Linked DNA regions of Homo sapiens: region 1 is linked to region 2. The links are contacts of gene promoters, found by promoter capture Hi-C in human tissues and cell types (Jung and others, 2019). All regions are on one chromosome and are shown on one strand. Each heading gives the region's core, a stretch centred on a gene start or on the middle of the fragment in contact. The rest is flanking DNA. Distances are from core to core; before and after follow the strand shown. Region 1 overlaps TMOD3 (tropomodulin 3). Region 2 holds the start of LEO1 (LEO1 component of Paf1/RNA polymerase II complex).

What was found. The method cuts DNA at HindIII sites, captures the fragments that hold promoters and counts their contacts. A contact is called where the count stands out against the background at its distance.
Region 1: a fragment that was not itself captured here is called in contact with the fragment with the promoter of LEO1 in region 2 in 3 of the 25 tissues and cell types used here (dorsolateral prefrontal cortex, hippocampus and mesendoderm cells).

The regions. Positions count from the first base shown.
Region 1 is chr15:51,865,548-51,871,016 of GRCh38, reverse strand. TMOD3 (tropomodulin 3) reads right to left here. Exons shown (of 10, transcript NM_014547.5): 3 at 1,644-1,800. Among named protein-coding and RNA genes, the nearest start is that of TMOD3, 39 kb to the right of the region's middle. The HindIII fragment of the contact is 4,580 bases long and covers 1,612-5,469 here.
Region 2 is chr15:51,970,362-51,976,048 of GRCh38, reverse strand. LEO1 (LEO1 component of Paf1/RNA polymerase II complex) reads left to right here and starts at 4,271. Exons shown (of 12, transcript NM_138792.4): 1 at 4,271-4,361. The coding sequence starts at 4,304. It also overlaps a transcript of MAPK6 not described here. RefSeq lists enhancers at 4,002-4,577, 4,225-4,754, 4,578-5,154. The HindIII fragment of the contact is 14,890 bases long and covers 1-5,687 here.

The DNA.
Region 1 (5,469 bases), core at 2,652-5,151, 100 kb after region 2:
CAGACTCTAAGTAAAGCCAATTAACCTCCATAATGTGGGTGGGCCTCATTTAATCAGTTGAAGGCCTTAAAAGAACAAAGATTTATCTCCCCAAAGTAGGAAGAAATTCTGCCACTAGACTGCCTTTGGACAAGAATAGTAAATCTTCCCTGGGTCTCCAGGCTGCTAGATTTTGAATTTAAAAAGCCTCCTTAAAATAAACTTTTCTCTCCCCTCACATCCTGTTGGTTCTGTCTCTCTGGAGAACCCTGACTAACTTAAATAACAAAGATAGTGATCCTTAACAAGAGATGAAGAGGAAGAGGACTCTAAAGAAAAAGCACAGGGGCTGGGGTGATGGATAATTTTAGAAAAGTCAGGTGCAGAGCTTACGGCTTACCTACTCAATAGCCATTCACAAGCCTTCCTCTACTATAGAAGCTGGAGTGCTAAAATGAACTTTCTTGCTTCCCTTGCAGCTAAGGGGTAGCCATGTGACACAGTTCTGGCCAAAATGATTGAGAAGGGCCTCTTTCTCAAATAAAAAGCCCAAGTCCCATTCTTCCTGCCTGGACTAATATGAATTCAGACATAAAAATGGTGCCTGCAAGAGCTGATCTTCAGCTCTGCTACTGCTGCCACCATTCCCCAGTATTCTATACACAGTATTCCAAGTAAGAGTGAACGTAGAATTTGGCTTTTTAGGCCAACCTGTATTCTGACCTGTTTGGAAAGCTGAAAAACTTATCCTGTTTCATTTAAGTATTATTATATATAGAACTTTTAAAAACACAGCTGTGGCTGGGTGCAGTGGCTCATGCCTGTAATCCCAGCACTTTAGGAGGCCTAGGTGGGTGGATCACTTGAGGTCAGGAGTTCGAGACCAGCCTGGCCAACACTGTGAAACCCCATCTCTACTAAAAATACAAAAATTAGCCAGACGTGCTGGTGTGCACCTGTAATCCCAGCTACTAAGGAGGCTGAGACAGGAGAATCGCTTAAACCCGGGAGGCGGAGGTTGCAGTGAGGCGAGGGTGCACCATTGCACTCCGGCCTGGGCAACAGAGCAAGACTCCATCTCAAACAAACAAACAAACAAACAAAAAAACAACCACAGCCGTACTCAGGCTCCACTGAGAATACATAAGCTCAAACACTTAAATGGGGGAGACTTGGACTAGAAAAATTTCCTAAAACTACTGATTATGAAGCATTAGCAATCATAACCATGAATTAATAATGATGGGTATAGAATAGCTTTTTAAAAGGGTCTTTGAAAATATGGCATGAATTGTTTTATGGCATTCCACTTTAAAGAATGCAGTTAGAATAGATGCCTTAACATCATTTGTACTCTGTAATCTACCACTGAATTTTAAGTTTCCTTCAATATACTTTTAGATCTGTTATAGTAGAGAATTAAAGAATGTTATTCAAAATCATTGTGTAATAAAACCTCACTAACATCATTAAGAAGAAACTTATTGACCAAGTTGATGAAAAATGTAAATAAAGTATCTAAACCAATAAATGTCTAAGTCAACAGTATCATATATTTAAGGCTACCAATGATGTACCTCTAAAAATATGATTTTCTCCACACCCACCTATAAAAAGAAAAATCAAGTGTTACCACATAATGACTTTAAAATTCTGGGGCTTACCTTTTTTTTCTCCAGTGTAGGGCACATAGTCTTCCCTGTCTTTATGCTCCAATGCTTCTTTCTCCAGATATGAAAGGAGATGCTCTCTATCAAATGGCCCTGTGGTGGACTTTGATGTCTGGTTCTTCTGCCGGAACCCTGCAGGCAGAAGGGCATTCTGCCAGAGAGAATGAATCAGCCAATATGACCAATAAGAATGCTAATGCTATATGCTTCCGAAGATTACCCATATAAAAAAGAATTACAGACTGGAATGTGATACAGGCACTAAACACTTCATTGCAGGATTTTAGGACAGCAATGTACAATTGCTCCAAACATTAAACTTCTTTTTTATTAGGTAGAATTCACTTACATTATTATTAAAATAGGCACATACATTAGTACAGTTTCTTTTCTTTTTGGAGACAGTCTCCTTCTATCCCCAAAGCTGGAGTGCAGTGGCATGATCTCAGCTCACTGCAACCTCTGCCTCCTGGGTTCAAGTGATTATCATGCCTCAGACTCCCAAGTAGCTGGGATTACAGGCGCCTGCCACCACGCCCAGCTAATTTTTGCGTTTTGGGTAGAGATGGGGTTTTGCCATGTTGGCCAGACTAGTCTAGAATTCCTGACTTCAGATGATCTGCCCTCCTCGGCTGCCCAAAGTGTTGGGATTACAGGTGTGAGCCACCGCGCCCAGCATACGTTTTCTAATAGAACATTTTCTTCAGAGAGGATTCTACTAGCAGAAAACAATCTTTAGTTTTTAAGTGTTCTGGGATACTAATAAAAAAGTTTTATTAACCACATACCACATCTTCTTACTTACATAAGTGGGAGTCAATGATGAGAACACACGGACATATAGAGCACACATATAGAGCTAAGTGATGAGAACACAAGGACATATAAAGCACACATATTGGAGCATAGAGGAGGGTGGAGGGTGGGAGGAGGTAGAGGATCAGGAAAAATAACTAACAGGTATTAGTGATGAAATAATCTGTACAACAAACCCCCATGACACAAGTTTACCTACGTAATGAAACCTGCACAGGTATCCCTGAACTTAAAACGTTTTTTTTAAAAAGTTTTATTAATGCTTAATAACTGCTCAGTGTATATATATGTACAGAGAATAATTCTATTACAAAAGAGTTTTAAATGACTCTGTACATTATATTCCTTCATGACTTCCATTTCATTGTACAGACTTCTTCATGATTACAACATATATACCATACAGTAGGATATCAGATTAATGTTTACTTCAGTTTAAACACAACGTGAGATGTTCCACTTGTGTGTGTATGCGTACATATATACATGACCACTAGGATGTACTTGCTACAATCACTATCATTGTTTCACATGCCCCAAGGGACCCCTGACATACTCACAGCAAGAGCTATGTTCCTGGGTTTCCACACGGGTACAGCCTTTTTGAGCGCATGGACTGACTTAGAGATGAGGGAGGTGCAGTGGAAGGTGATGGATTAAAGTTGTCTCCTGTAGTCCCTTAATTTTCACTAAGCCCAGTAAACACAAGGGCTGACTAGACAAAGTGAGTACCGTCCTTTCACTTGTCAAAAGCCAAAGAGGTGATACTGCCTTGTCTCATATTTCTGGGTATATCTTTGCTTTGAAAATGGGAGGCAGCCAGAGAAATCACACAAAAGGGCCAGCTCTCTTTTGCAAAACCTCCCAATATTGGCAGTGACGCTGAATTTCATGGGTGGTATAAGACAATTTTTCATTATAAAGGGTAATCTTATATGGGCAATAGTAATAGAAAATATTCAATTTGTAACTAGGAAATACAGCACTTCAACTGTGGTCATTTGTTGAGACACATAATAATTTTCATAAAATTCACTTCTGTGTTACCCTTTATGTAATGGTACCTACTACACAGAAAGCTGAACTGTAAAGACGAAACATTCCTAACTTTGTACCAAGTATGTTTCTGTAATACAAAATTGTTTATGGAAACATAAAAAAGAAACATAAGATTTCTACCTTTAGACTTAGAAATCATGAGAGGAATTACACATGAAGAATCCATTTCCAATTGACCTGCAAGTCCTACTCATTTTTACTTCCTGAAGAACTCATTCATCTTTTTCCCATCTCCAACATTATTACTTTGGTCGAAACTATGATCTAAGCTTGCTGAGACTGTTACATTAGCTTCCCACCTGGATCAGCTGCCTGATATTTTTTATCCTTCACCACCAGCCCCTCAGTCTGTCACCCTAGCCTCATCTCACACACCCTCTCCATTCCAGTCACACTGGACTTTTTTTTCTCTCTTGTACTTGCCATATACTTCCTTCTACCACCAGGCCTCTATGTGTGTGGTCTCCCTTCCCTGGAATGCTCTGCCTATCCCTTTTTGCAACTCATTTTTCAGATTGTAGCTCCATTCCCCCAGGGAAGCTTTTCTTAACCTCTCATCACAAGCTCTTACAGTGTGTAGCACTTACCATTCTTTTAATATGGTATGATTATTTGGTTAATGTCAAACTGCTCCTATTCCTACCAGCCTGCGTCATGAGGGCAAAGACCACATTTGTTTTGCTCATTCTTGTATTCCTAAGCCTAGCATAGTACCTGGGGTCTACAAGTTGCCCCCAAATATTTACTGAATAAAGGTGTTAGAATGCTTTTAAAGAAAGATTCTCATTAAGGCAAATTAATAAAAAGTTACTTTCCTTCTCCATCATTAATGCATAGATGTATATATTGCTATTTCATGGTGGTGGTAATGGAATTTGCACTACTCTACCTGCCTGCTCAAGCCCATGTGACACACACAGTCTTAAATATGATAGCTGAAATCCTGGCTCCCTAGAAAGCCTTTTTTTTCTTTCTTTCTTTTTGGTCTGGCTCCTTAGAAAGCCTTTTTTTTCTTTCTTTTTTTTGGGTAGGGGGGAGACAGGGTCTTGCTCTACTGCTCAGGCTGGAGTACAGTGGTGCGATCACAGCTTGCTGCAACCTTGAACTCCTGGGCTTAAGCAATCTTCCTGCCTAGGCCTCTGGAGTAACTGGAACTACAGGTGTGCACCACCATGCCCCCGGCTAATTTTTAAAATTTTTTGTCGAGGCAAGGTCTTGCTATGTTGCCCAGGATGGTCTGGAACTCCTGCTCTTAAGCAAATCTCCCTCCTTGGCCTCCCAAAATGCTAGGATTACAGGTGTGAGCCACTATACCCGGCCAAAAACAGTCTAACCACAATCTAAATGAAGCTAGCTGGTTTTAGAGACTATAAACCCATGAACCAAGCTTCATTAGAAATATGTTCTAATCAAGTAAGCTAATAGATCATAATTACTTTTCATATAAAAATTTTCTTTAATATGATTGTCACTAAAAATGACACGTTTCTCTCTTGCAGTGCAATTTTGCTGTAAAATATATTCCTAGCCTTGGGGGGGAAAAAAAGCTCTTCCTAGGCTGGCTGTCTTCTGGAGACATATATATATATTTTTTTTTTGGCAAAAACTCAGTGAGTTAGCAAACACGTACACTGAATACAGCAGAAGGACAGTAAAACAGTCCTCCAAAATATAATAAGGTACCACACACACCTTCGACCTACTTCCTGAGACTTTGTAAGTTACAGTGGTGTTTCTTTGGCTGAAGTAGCTGCTACTACCCTTGACCTCTTTTCTTACCTGGTTCTTTACCAGAACGCTTTCCAAAAACATGTCACCCAACAAACAGATGCTGTCAATAAACATCACTGTTCTCCTAGCCTCAACTAACAGTATTGAGGTTAGAGGAATTATGACTGGGGTTGGGGAGTTTGCAAAATACATTCAGAGGTTACTCAAGCCTCCC
Region 2 (5,687 bases), core at 3,022-5,521:
GTGATCCGCCCGCCTCGGCCTCCCAAAGTGCTGGGATTACAGGCGTGAGCCACCGTGTCCAGCCCCCCAAACTCTTTTATATGAAGAAATATGTTTGTCATTATTTTTATATCCCTATAGCACCCATTGTGGGACCCTAATTCAGTAATTCAGTAAGGAATCCAGTAAAGGCAGACTGTTAGTGAATATCATGTGTCTTCCAAGAAATCAGCTGAGTATTTACTTACTGCTATAGAGAGAAACTACAAGGTTCCTCTCTTGCTCTCTTTAATTCAGATCAGCCTGTTCCCTTCTAAAGGCCAACTCCTTCCACAAAGTGCTCAGAAAAGCCACATGATCCTCCTGTGGAGTGGCAGTTTACCATAAATGGAGTGAATTTTCAGTGAATATATTCTGTTTAATCAATCTGTTATTTTTCCTCTAAGTCGTTAAGGTGTTACACAAATTTAAAAACATATATTCCTTTTTGTGTGATTTGGTGTAAGTATATATTTTATACTTTTTTTTTTTAGACGGAGTCTTGCTCTGTCTCCAGGCTTGAGTGCAGTGGCGCGATCTTGGCTCACTGCAACCTCCGCCTCCCGGATTCAAGCGATTCTCCTGCCTCAGCCTCCTGAGTAGCTGGGACTACAGGTGCATGCCACCCCACCCAGCTAATTTTTGTATTCTTAGTAGAGACGAGGTTTCACCATGTTGGCCAGGATGGTCTTGATCTCTTGACCTCGTGATCCACCTGCCTTGGCCTCCCAAAGTGCTGGGATTACAGGCGTGAGCCACCGCGCCCGGCCTGTTGAGTATTTTTTTGATTACCTTGTAAAAATGTTTGTGATGATACATTAATTGTATTGTGTTATGTACTCAACCTCATTGAATCTTTGTTCTTCGGGTTCTATGGTATCTAAAAAGATATTATTCTGAGGATCTAGCTTCACCTTATGAAAGCAGAACGTTCTTTCAAAAACTGAAAGAACGAAGATAAAGCCACTCTGAAGTTGTTTTATTTAATCACACACCTAATAGATGAAATTCTCAGGCCTGGTGCGGTGGCTGACGCCAGTAATCCCAGCATTTGGGAGGTTGAGGTGGATGGATCACCTGAGGTCAGGAATTCAAGACCAGCCTGGCCAACATGGTGAAACCCTGTCTTTACTAAAAATACAAAAATTAGCTGGGCATGGTGGTGCATGCCTATAGTCCCAGCTACTTGGGAGGCTGAGACAGGAGAATCACTTGAAGCCGGGAGGCGGAGGTTGCAGTGAGCCAAGGTCATGCCACGGCACTCCAGCCTGGGTGACAGAGCAAGACTCTGTCTTGCGGGGGGGGAAAAAAGAAATTCTCCATTCCTAGGAACAAATGTCAAGATCATCTTTTTTTTTTTTTTTTTTTTTTTGAGACGGAGTCTCGCTCTGTCTCCCAGGCTCGGGTGCAGTGGCGTGATCTCAGCTCACTGCAAGCTCCGCCTCCTGGGTTCATGCCATTCTCCTGCCTCAGCCTCCCCAGTAGCTGGGACTACAGGTGCCCGTCACCATGCCCTGCTAACTTTTTTTTAAATATTTTTAGTAGAGACGGGGTCACTGTGTTAGCCAGGATGGTCTCGATCTCCTGACCTTGTGATCCACCTGCCTCGGCCTCCCAAAGTGCTGGGATTACAGGGGTGAGCCACCGTGCCCGGCCTGTCAAGATCATCTTAACATTCAAAGTTAAATTAGTTGAACACAAACCAAATAGGATTAAATTCTCCATCTCTGGGGGTAAATGAAGTTATTTAGCACTGTAAACTTTAATCAAACTGGGTGTAGTGGCTTACACCTGTAATTCCAACACTTTTGGAGGCCAAGACACGAGGATCACTTGAGGCCAGGAATTCAAGACCAGTCTAGGCAACATAGTGAGACCTTGTTTCTATATATTTTTTTAAGTTTTTAAAAAAGTATTAAAAATAAAATAAACTTCAATCAAAGTGATAACCTCAGGTAAGAAATACTGCAAAATGATTGTGATTGATTTACCTTAAGTCCAATCTCATGTATTATATCCTTTATGAAGAAAGATAATGAGTAGAAGAGCAATGGTCAGCATAAAGTGTAACCAAAACAAGGCTGGGCACGGTGGCTCAGGCCTGTAATTCCATCACTTTGGGAGGCCAAGGCGGGTGGATCACCTGAGGTCAGGAGTTTGAGACCAGCCTGACTAACATGATGAAATCCCATCTCTACTAAAAATACAAAATTAACCGGATATGGTGGCGCATGCCTGTAATCCCAGCTACTCAGAAGGCTGAGGCAGGAGAATCACTCGAACCCGGGAGGTGGAGGTTGCAGTGAGCTGAGATCACGCCATTGTACTCCAGCCTGGGCAACAAGAGCGAAACTCTGTTTAAAAAAAAAAAGTGTAGCCAAAACATAAACAAAAAAATCTGTCCAAGAGTCAGAAGTGATTTGTTTTATACTATTCATATGGGAAAAACACGTTTATTCTGATAGCCAGGAATATGGACATGGTGACTCACCAGACCAAACTGTAATTCAATTTATTAAGATTTAGCCAGGCACTGTGGCCCATACTTGTAATCCCAACGTGTTAGGAGGCCGAGGCAGGAGGACCTCTTGAGGCCAGGAGTTTGAGGCTGCAGTGAGCTATGATGGCGCCACTGCGCTCCAGCCTAGGCAACAGAGACACTGTATCAAAAGAAAATAAATTTAATCAAAGTACTTTTCAGGGACAGTACTCTAAATGAAAATGAAACTGAATCACTGTCAAATGGAATACTTGTTTTTCCAGTATTCCAGATAGTTTTCAGGTTATCTATGTATCTTCTCTTGCAACATCCGCTTCATACACAAAAGCTCTAGGATTGATGATTACATACCCAGTCCCACCCATTTGGACCCTGTTAAGCACTGAAGTTTACTACAAAAATATATATCATATAATCTCCAAACTAAATATTCATTGTTGCTTGTCCAAGACCAAAACTCTCATAATGGCCTAATTAGGTAATGTAACACAGGATGTACTCTTTTCTCACTTTTTCTTCTAAGAAACAGAGCCTTACTCTGTCACTCAGGCTAGAGTGAAGTGGCGTGATCATAGCTCACTGCAGCCTCCAACTCCTGGGCTCAAGTGATCCTCCATTCTCAGTTTCCTGAGTAGCTAGGGCTACAAATGCATGCCATCATGCCTGGCTAATGTTTTTATTTTTAATTATTTTATTTTATTATTATTATTTTTTTGAGATGGAGTCTCGTGCCCAGGCTGGAGTGCAGTGGCGCGATCTCGGCTCACTGCAAGCTCCGCCTCCTGGGTTCACGCCATTCTCCTGCCTCATCCTCCCTAGTAGCTGGGACGACAGGCGCCCACAACCACGCCCGGCTAATTTTTTTTATTTTAGTAGAGACGGGGTTTCACCGTGTTAGCCAGGATGGTCTCGATCTCCTGACCTCGTGATCCACCCGCCTCGGCCTCCCAAAGTGCTGGGATTACAGGCGTGAGCGACCGCGCCCGGCCAAAAAAATGGTCATTTAAAGCTTAAAAAAGCTGTTTGTTAACATGTATATTATTTTTAAATGAATTAGTAACTTAAAAATTTATTACCGTATTAGTAAGAATACAGTAAATATCAATACCCGTACCTGTAATCCCAGCACTTTGGGAGGCCGAGGCGGGCGGATTGCCTGAGCTCCTGAGTTTGCGACCAGCCTGGGCAACACGGTGAAACCCCGTGTCTACTAAAATACAAAAAATTAGCCGGGTGTGGTGGCGGGCGCCTGTCGTCCCAGCTACTCGGGAGGCTGAGGAATTAGAATTGCTTGAACCCGGACAGTGGAGGTTGCTGTGAGCCGAGATCGCGCCACTGCACTCCAGCCTGGGCGACTGAGCGAGACTCCGTCTCAACAATTTTTAAGAGGGTAAAGGGGTTTGGGATGAAATAACTGGAGAACAGCTGCTCAGTAAGAAACAAAGGGCTTCAATCCTGACTCGCGATAGGTTTAATCCAGCCAGAGGCCCTTCCCCAGAGAGCGCCAGTCACCGCCCACCCCATCCACACCCGCAACCGAACGCAGGACCCCCCCGCCCCCTGGTAAGAATCCTGGCAAATAACAGATATTGACGAAATGGCCGGGCTTATATACCATGCATACCCAGGCGAGAACAGGTTCACTGGGCGAGCGAAAACTAGGTCACGTAAGGAAAGGAGTGTCTTCGGCGAATCTTTGCGACACTGTCGTGTTTCAGTGGTTCCGTGCCGTAAAGAGAGGCCGGGAGCTGCCCCTAACCGAGGCAGCAGCGGACGTGAGCGATAATGGCGGATATGGAGGATCTCTTCGGGAGCGACGCCGACAGCGAAGCTGAGCGTAAAGGTGGGTTCGCTGGTCTTCGGAGGATGGGTGCGTGGCAGGCCTTCCGCTGTGGGAGCCGGACAACCGTGGAGGCTCCAGCGCCGCGGGCAAGAGGTGGCGTTTCCTCCACTCCTGCCTCAGCGCCCCCTGCACTCCCGGAGGTGCCATCCTCCTCCGGCGGGCAGGATGGAGAGTCAGACAGTCTGCGCCTCGAGGCTCTGGGTGTCGGTGGAGCAGACGGTTCCTGGGAGCTTGTGGAGCGAAAGGGGCGCGGGGCATGGGTGGAAGTGCAGGCGAGCCTGCGCAGCGCGGGTAGGAACGTTGGAGTCCTGTTCCGCCTTGCCTTGCACAGGCCAGCGTAGAGTAAGGGCTGTTTTTGAATGAATGGAAATGAATGCAGGAATATGGGATGGGGTGGGCGAATTTACAGAGGGCCTCAGAATGCCGTCTTGAATGAAACCAGAGCATGGTGTGATAGGGAGCTTGAGATGTCTGGATGACGAGTCTGGGACGGATAATGGGATGGGGTTACAGATAGATGTTTCACATAGGAGAGAATGTGTTCTCTAAGAGCTTGTGCAGAAACTCCAGAATTTCCGGAGTCTGTGATGTTAGATTGGGGAGTGCATGGGGTCTGTGTACAGAGAGGAGGAATGAAGGATTTGTTGATGAAATGAATGAATTAGTGTATGTGCATGCTGCTTGGAAGTTATTTCTGGCACAGGATTGTGGGTGTTTTTTTAAAGTTTACTTTTTTAGAGACAGGGTCTCACTGTGTTGCTCAGGTTGGCCTTGAACTTCTGGGCTCAAGCCATCCTTCTGCCTCAGCCTCCAAGTAGTTGAGACTACGGGCACTTGAAATATGAATAGGAGCTATTTGAAGTGAGAACCCAAGACCAAGTTCAGAATTCTTGCAACCCTCTAGGCTCCAAGTAAAGTGAGTCTCTTGTAGACAACATATATCTAGTTGTTATTTTCATCACCCCCAAATAAAACACTGTTCATAAAGCACTTACTCCTCATATGCTCCTTCCTCCAACCCCTGTCTGCTATTGTTTCTGTACTTATCTGTTCTGGGAATTTCATATAAATTGAATCATGCATTGTGGTCTTTTGTGTCTGGTTTCTTTTACTTAGCATAATGTCTTCAAGGCATTGTAGCACATATCAGTACTTTATTCATTTTTAATGATTTAATAATATTCCATTGAATGTGCACACCCTAAATTTGTTAATCCATTTATCTGTTGATGGACATTGGGTTGTTTGAATAGTGCTACTGTAAACATTCCTGGTTCCGGCAGGCGGATTTGCCTGAGCTCAGGAGTTGAAGACCAGCCTGGGCAA